Regions from separate parts of the Homo sapiens genome. Here regions 1 and 3 are each linked to region 2. The links are contacts of gene promoters, found by promoter capture Hi-C in human tissues and cell types (Jung and others, 2019). All regions are on one chromosome and are shown on one strand. Each heading gives the region's core, a stretch centred on a gene start or on the middle of the fragment in contact. The rest is flanking DNA. Distances are from core to core; before and after follow the strand shown.

What was found. Contacts are between HindIII fragments. The study calls those that stand out against the background at their distance.
Region 1: a fragment that was not itself captured here is called in contact with the fragment with the promoter of ZMYM4 in region 2 in 2 of the 25 tissues and cell types used here (hippocampus and mesenchymal stem cells).
Region 3: a fragment that was not itself captured here is called in contact with the fragment with the promoter of ZMYM4 in region 2 in 3 of the 25 tissues and cell types used here (H1 embryonic stem cells, liver and mesendoderm cells).

Annotation. Positions count from the first base shown.
Region 1 is chr1:35,334,313-35,337,012 of GRCh38, forward strand. All of the region lies in intron 2 of ZMYM4 (zinc finger MYM-type containing 4), which reads left to right. Among named protein-coding and RNA genes, the nearest start is that of ZMYM4-AS1, 30 kb to the right of the region's middle. The HindIII fragment of the contact is 3,886 bases long and covers 1-2,700 here.
Region 2 is chr1:35,267,293-35,269,992 of GRCh38, forward strand. It overlaps ZMYM4 (zinc finger MYM-type containing 4), which reads left to right and starts at 1,417. Exons shown (of 30, transcript NM_005095.3): 1 at 1,417-1,793. The coding sequence starts at 1,755. RefSeq lists enhancers at 1,107-1,166, 1,187-1,246 and silencers at 1,377-1,736, 1,807-1,936. The HindIII fragment of the contact is 5,206 bases long and covers 664-2,700 here.
Region 3 is chr1:35,160,934-35,163,633 of GRCh38, forward strand. No RefSeq gene overlaps it. Among named protein-coding and RNA genes, the nearest start is that of SFPQ, 31 kb to the right of the region's middle. The HindIII fragment of the contact is 8,860 bases long and covers 1-2,700 here.

The DNA.
Region 1 (2,700 bases), core at 181-2,680, 67 kb after region 2:
TCTTTCTAAAAAATAAAAAAGCACTTTAATACCTCACATTTCCACCAGCAGTGTAGTAAGAACACCTTCCCCCATCCATTAGTATATATTATAGCTCTTCTTAATATTTCCCAGTCTGATGGATGTAAAATATCACAGCCTTAACTTTAATTTGTATGTTCTCAACTCCTGTAGAATTTGAGCAGCTTTTAATAAGTTTAACATTTAGACTGGCTTTCTCTGTATTGTCTAGTAATAAATATTTGTTGAAGAATGAATATCTTTTGCCCTTTAAAAAAAGTTTACTTTTTCTTCATAGCAAGTTGTAAGCTTGTTTTATATTTTAATAATAGCTGTTATGGTGAGTCACAGTAAGCACAGTAAAGCATACATCTGAAAGAAGATTCAGATATACATAATAGACAATCACTATTCATTCAGGATTTTTAACTTTGAGAATGCATAATGTAAAGTTCTTTTGATGGGGGCAGGAGTTCTGATTTCCCTCATTTGACTCCCTTTTTGTGTCATCTTGAGCTAAATAAATGTTTTTGACACTTAAACATTTTGGTATCGTTTATGACATCTGGGTTTTCAGTCTTGTTTAAGAAAGTTTTTCTCACTCCTTAGTTATTTCTCGGAATACTTCGAAAACTTTTTATAAATTATTAAACACAAAATAAACTTACAATGTAAGATATATTTTATGAAAACGCTTAACCACTTAGCTTTTTAAAATGTATATTTTCATGCTCTTGATGCCAATTTCCCAGTCTCATACAAGTAGCCACCTCTCCAAAAAGGTAGCCATCATCCTGAATTTTGTGTTTATTTTCTTGCTTTTCCTTTACCACAATTATTGAATATTTGTAGTTTTGCTTGGTTTTGAGCTTTGTATTGTTTTTGAATCATGCTGTGTGTTACCACTTGCTTTTATTCCCTATTGCATTTTTTTTTTTTTCCCAGACAGAGTCTCGCTGTGTCACCCAGGCTGGAGTGCAGTGACGCGATCTCGGCTCACTGCGATCTCTGCTTCCCGGGTTCAAGTGATTCTCCTGCCTCAGCATCCCGAGTAGCTGGGACTATAGGCACCCACCACCATACTTGGCTAATTTTTATATTTTTAGTAGAGACGAGGTTTCACCATGCTGGCAAGGCTGATCTCAAACTCCTGACCAGGACTCTTGATCCGTCCGCCTCTGCCTCGCAAATGCTGGGATCACGGGTGTGAGCCACCATGCCTGGCCCTCATTGCGTATTTCTGAGATTTTACTGCATTGTTGTATGCGGTTCTTGTTTATTTGTTTGTCACCAATGCATGATAATTCATTATATAAATATATAACTATTTTAAATTGTGGAAAAAACATAAAATTCTGGGCCAGGCGCAGTGGCTCAACACCTGTAATCCCAGCACTTTGGGAGGTCAAGGTGGGTGGATCACGAGGTCAGGAGCTCGAGACCATCCTAGCTAACACGGTGAAACTTTGTCTCTACTAAAAATATAAAAAATTAGCCGGACGTGATGGCAGGCGCATGTAGTCCCAGCTACTCGGGAGGCTGAGGCAGGAGAATGGCGTGAACCTGGGAGGCGGAGCTTGCAGTGAGCCTGGGCGAGAGAGCGAGACTCCGTCTCAAAAAAACAAAACAAAACAAAAAACCATAAAATTTACCACCTAAGCCATTTTTAAGTGTGCAGTTCAGTAGTGTTAAGTATATTCACATTGTTGTGCAACAGATCTCTGGAACTTTTTCATCCTGCAAAAGTGAAACTCTGTACCCATTGATCAATAAGTCCTCATCACCCCCTCTTCATCCCCTGGCAACCTTAGAAGTTTTATCTTCTAAGAGTTTGACTATGGTAGTAACTGTGTGTACGTTAGCATATCCTCAAGGTTCATCATGTTGTACCTTGTGGAACCATGTTGAACCTTCTTGTACCATGTTGAACATTCTGATACATGTAGCATGTGTTAGAATTGCCTTCATTTTTAAGGTAAAAATGATACTTTAGTGTATCCTCAAGGTTCATCATGTTGAACCTTGTGGTACCATGTTGAACATTCTGACACATGTTGTAACATGAGTCACAATTACCTTTTTTTTTTTTTTGATACAGAGTTTCACTCTTGTTGCCCAGGCTCCAGTGCAGTGGTGGGATCTTGGCTCACTGCAACCTCCACCTCCCAGGTTCAAGCGATTCTCCTGCCTCAGCCTCCCGAGTATCTAGGATTACAGGCGTGTGCCACCATCCCTGGCTAATTTTGTATTTTGGGTATAATTTTGTATTTTTAGTAGAGACAGGACTGTACCACATTGGTCAGGCTGGTCTCAAACTCCTGACCTCAGGTGATCTGCCCACCCCAGCCCTCCAAAATGCTGGGATTACAGGCATGAGCCACCACACCCAGCCAATTACCTTCATTTTTAAGGCTGAATCATATTCAGTTGTTTATGTAATACATGATATGGTTTGGCTCTGTGTCCCCACCCAAATCTCATCTTGAATTGTAATCCCCACATTCAAGGGAGTGACCTGTAGTCCTCATGTCTCTACAAAAGGGAAGTGATTGGATTATAGGGGCAGTTCCCCCCATGTTGTTCTTGTGACAGCGAGTGAATTCTCATGAGGTATCATGGTTTTATAAATGGTAGTTTTCATGTGCTCTTCGTGCTCTTGCCTGCTACCATGTAAGACATGCCAGCTTCCCCTTCTGTCAT
Region 2 (2,700 bases), core at 167-2,666:
CATGGAACTAAAGGGAACATGTTTTTAAAATTCTGGCTGAAATGAACATATTTCTTTGTCCTTCTTTCTTCTCTCCTACCGAGGAGTGAAATTAAAGACAGTGCTAAAGGCATAAGCAAGGCCAGTATGGAAACTTCCAGCAATTTCACCAAAAGTTTTCAGCAAAATATTACAGATTAGAAAACATCTGTTTCAGAATAGCTACCAAGTGCTAAATAAAACAGAAAACAGAAGTTACATCTCATTATCCTGTGACTTCAGGAGTTATCATTCCCACTTGAATATGTCTTGTCATGGGAAATGACCTTCAGGAGGCATCTTCTTTGTATTTCTTACTATATGTCTCCCCACTGTCCCTGAACTATCATTATAAACTTAATTTTTTCTGCACCCAAAGCTTGTGGGAACTAGAATGAACAGAAGAGGAATGAATGAAGCCCTCATTCTTTTCAGCGATTTTCAGCTTAGGACCCAGTTTTGGAACAAGATAGACCCAAATCTACTTCCTGGTTTCCTGCTTAGAAATAAGATGCTTATCCTTTAAGGCAGATTGTCAAGCTCCTTCAATAGAGGTGAATGAGGACACCCATCATCTGCAAATCATTACATCTTCACAAGAGAATTATGATATTCTCCAAATACCATGAAACTTCAATTTTTAATCTTCTAGGGATATCAAATTAAACCAAATTTATCTCTCGCCTGAAGACAGCCTGGAGGACTGAGACTGTAATCTTGATTCCAACTCCACACCAGCCATTAGTTACATTGGGACAAATTCCTTCCCATGATCAGGCTGCAATTTTATCATTGGGAGCACTGGAGTAAATGGTTCCCTAAGATCCTTCTCCATTTTGATGTTCTAAGGATAAATTACTATTGAAGAAATTATTTCCAGTTGTTGGTTCAATCTTCAAAATCACCAAAAGCTTTGATTTTAAGGTGAGGTTATAGGAGTTGGCTCTTGATATTCTATGCCTTGTGCTTCAGAACAGGCAGTCGAAAGGGAGGAAAGTTGGTTTTCCTTGAGATGACTGTCTTGTTCCCTCATTGGTTTGGGATTCTTCATGTTCAGAGGTCCACTGAGAACTTCAGCTTACCATGACTTTCCCTCTTCAATGGTACCACTGTAGTCAGGTGTAAGATGGTGATGTGGAACCCTTCACTGACATTGCACCCAATTCTCCAGATTGTCTTTCCAGTAATTTCTTTCATTTCTCCTTCATCCCTGCGTCATGGTCCCTTTAAGGGAGCGGCCATAGTTGAGTGGTGGGAGCAGCTGCTGGCAGCAAAGAGACTTGCAGGATTTGGCCTACCCATGGCCACTTACCGCGCACGCTCAGGACCGGGGGCTTGGTGGGAAAGGAAGGAGGGACTTAGGGTGCGCCTGCGCATCAGGGGCGCGCGCAAGGGGCTGATTTGGTGATCCCTTTAAGAAACCGCAGGCGGAGGAATTTCTCTGAGAGAAAATAATCCTACTCACGGGGCCCCTTGGAGGCCATTAACCCCCCGAGTCCCGGCCCCCACCCCGTCCCCGGGCAGGCCCTCCCGCCCACGCGCGGACCCGTGGGATCTCAGAAGCTGCGGCCCGGCGCGCGGCATCCGCCCCCTCCCCACTCTCGGCGCAAGGCCCGGCCGGGTCCGGGGAAGCTGCCGCGAGGCGGCCGTGCCTGCAGTGTGGGCGGGGGCCGGGGGGCCGAGAGGTACCGCCGCCACCGCGCGGGGAGCCGCAGCGGTTCCGAGCGGGGCCCAACATGGCGGAGAGAGAGGTGGAGTCCGGCCCCCGAAAGAGGGTAGGTGAGGTGAGGCAGAACTCGGGCGGCGGGGGGCGGGGCGCGGCCCGGGGCCGGGAATGGGCCATACTCAGGTTCGTGGAGGGGTCGCCGAGGCCCAGTTAGGACAAGGTTGCGGGCAGGTCTGAGGCAGCCTTGGGTCCGGAGCGCGCTGGCGAGCGGTCCCTCGGCAGGTGGGACAAAGATTTGGTGCTGGGTGGGGGGGAGGGGAGGGGGCCGTTGTTTGCCTTCCTCCCCCCGACGTTCCCCAGCACTGGGGTGGGATATCTAGGCCCAGGGAGGGGAGGTGTCAGATTCTTAAGTGCATCTTTAGTGCATCTTTAGTACATCAGAGTCTGGAAGTTAACTGGGGAGAGGTCAGGTGGGGGTGGTGGTGGCGGGAATAAGTCGTGGAGGGGTCTCAGGAGAAATAACCGGAGGGTTCTTCAGTAACACCATCGCGAATTCATTTTCCTGCCTCCTTTCCCCTCCCCCCATAGCCGTTATCTAGACCAAAGTCGGGGTGGTGGTCTTACCTGTGAAGAAGTGGGATCGTTGGCATGTCCTGATTTAGGAGAAAGATTTTGGCTACTATGAATGTCATGTTCTAGCCTAGCCTCTTACTCGCAATTAGGGACTTGGAAGAATACGACAAGTTTTCTCATAACAGGGATGTACCCAATCAACCTGCAGAGGTGAAGCCAATTCTACATAGGAGTTGTTTGAATACCTTTTAAAGTTTGTCTGGAAACTTTCCTTATTTAATTCTGAGTGGTTTTTTTCAGATGGCGAACAATACTGTACTATCGATTGAGCAATATCCCTCACTTTTCTTTTACTTCCTCCCCGCTTAGCATGATAAGAAGTAAGTTTCCTTTTAGGAGTCTTCCTTTTGGGAATGGTTTCAGAAACGATCAATTAGCAAAAG
Region 3 (2,700 bases), core at 168-2,667, 110 kb before region 2:
TTCCCATTGCAATGCGTAACTCCTGAATAAATCTCTTTTTCTTTTAGAGAGCCTCTTTCTCTTTATTATTTAGATTGACAGTGGTAATGATCTTATTGGTGTATACATATGTCAAACTTTATCAAGTTTGTACTTCAAATATGTGCAGTTTATTGTATATCAATTACTTCATTTAAGCTGTTTTTTAAAATGTTCATTACGTTTTCCTGTGTAAAATGGAAATTCGTGTGACTATTTATAACTTTTTCCAACTTGTTCTGTCTCTGTTAAAACAAATCTGTTGTATTCAGCTTCCAGCTCAGACAGAAAACTGGTACCAGATTTCCCTTAGTGCTGTAAACAACTAGAAAACTGCATGAAGTATACAAAACAACTGCTGTTCATACATGGTATATGTGTTTGCTAGAGCTGCCATAACAAAATACCAGACTAGTGGCTTAAAAAACAGAAATAGGGGCCAGGCGCGGTGGCTCACACCTGTAATCCCAGCACTTTGGGAGGCTGAGGCGGGTGGATCACAAGGTCAGGAGATCGAGGCCATCCTGGCTAACATGGTAAAACCCCGTCTCTACTAAAAATACAAAAAATTAGGCGGGCGTGGTGATGGGCGCCTGTAGTCCCACCTACTCAGGAGGCTGAGGCAGGAGAATGGCATGAACCTGGGAGGCGGAGCTTGCAGTGAGCCGAGATCATGCCACTGCACCCCAGCCTGGGCAACAGAGCGAGACTCCGTCTCAAAACAAAACAAAACACAACAAAAAAAAACAGAAATAGGCCGGGTGCAGTGGCTCACGCCTGTAATCCCAGCACTTTGGGAGGCCGAGGAGGAGTCAGATCACTTGAGGTCAGGAGTTCGAGACCAGCCTGGCCAACATGGTGAAACCCTGTCTCTACTAAAAATACAAAAATTAGCTGGGCATGGTGGCAGGCGCCTGTAATCCCAGCTACTCAGGAGTCTGAGGCAGGAGAATCGCTTGAACCTGGGAGGCAGAGGTTGCAGTGAGCTGAGATTGTGCCACTGCACTCCAGCCTAGGCAAAAGAGTGAGACTCCATTTCAGAAAAAAAAAAAAAAAAAAAGCCAGGAGTGTATTTTCTCACAGTTCTTGAGTGTAGAAGATCAAGATGGCAGTGTTGGCAGGTTTAATTTCTTCTGAGGTCTTTCTCCTTGGCTTGCAGAGGGCAGTCTACTTGCTGTGTCCTTTCCTGGTCCTCATGTGGTCCACTCATCCATGGTGATTCTTCCTTTTCTCATAAAGATATTAGCCGTAATGGAGTAAGGCCTCACCCGTATGCCTTCATTTTACCTTAATTATTTCTTGAAAGGCCCTATCTACAAATATAGTCACATTCTGAGATACACTAGGGGTTAAGACTTCAATTGGATTTTTGGGGGACACAATTCAGTCCATAACACATTGCAAAATAGGCTATACAGGATTGTGATTCTTGAAAAAAGGGTAGTAAATGAGGCAAGCACCTCTGCACTCCAGCCTGGGTGAAAGTGAAACTCATGATTGTCACATGCTGTCTGCCTGGAAGCTTTATCTGATCCATGGTGTAGAGAAGAGGACCCAAACAAGAGCGTGGAGTTCTTGCTGCATTGAGGAGACAGAGTTCAGAGTTTTTTTTTTTTTTTTTTTTTAGACAGAGTCTCCAGTTGCCCAGGCTGGACTGCAGTAGCAGCACAATCTCAGCTCACTGCAACCTACACCTTCCAGGTTCAAGTGATTCTCCTGCCTCAGCCTCCTGTGTAACTAGGATTACAGGCACGCGCCAGCACACTTGGCTAATTTTTGTATATTTAGTAGAGACGGAGTTTCACCATGTTGGTCAGACTGGTTTCAAATTCCTGACCTCAGGTGGTCCACCCACCTCGGCCTCCCAAAGTGCTGGGATTACAGGCATGAGCCACTGAGCCCAGCCAGAGATTGGAGTTTGATAAGGCTGAAGCAGCTGGAACTTGTGGAACAAAATACTAAAAAGAAGGGAGCTATACAGAAAAAGAATCTGCATAAAATTTATTTGGAGTTATTGGCAGAATACTAAATTGTGCAAGTATAGAACAAGACTCCACAAGGTCAGAGAAAAAACAACTATTGAAAAAGGAACAACAACTAGAGAGTTTTATGTTGGACAATTCCTAGAGCTTACAAGGGCTGGGGAGACATTCACATTCTGACTATTCTGAATAGAAGAACCTTGTTATACACCTAAGGCATCCAGTGGAAATACTAGAATTAGGCCTAGAGAAAAAGTCACTCCAGACTTGCTCTATCAAATCTAATTGCCTGCCAAAACAAAACTAATTACTCTTAAAAGTAAGACATTCGACAACATGATATTCACAATGTCCAGGATCTAGTGAAAAATTATTAGACATGTCAAGGAGCAGGAAAATGTGAACCACAGCAGTAGAAAAAATCAGCTAATAGAAAAAAAAAAAAAAAGGTCGGGCATGGTGGCTCACACCTATAATCCCAGCACTTTGGGAGGCTGAGGTGGGAGGATCATTTGAGGTCAGGATTTCAAGACCAGAGTGGCCAACATGGCAAAATCCCGTCTCTACTAAAAATACAAAAATTAGCTGGCCGTGGTGGCATGCACCTCTAATCCTAGCTACTAGGGAGGCTGAGGCAGGAGAATCACTTGAACCCAGGAGGCAGAGGTTGCAGTGAGCCAAGATCATGCCACTGCACTCC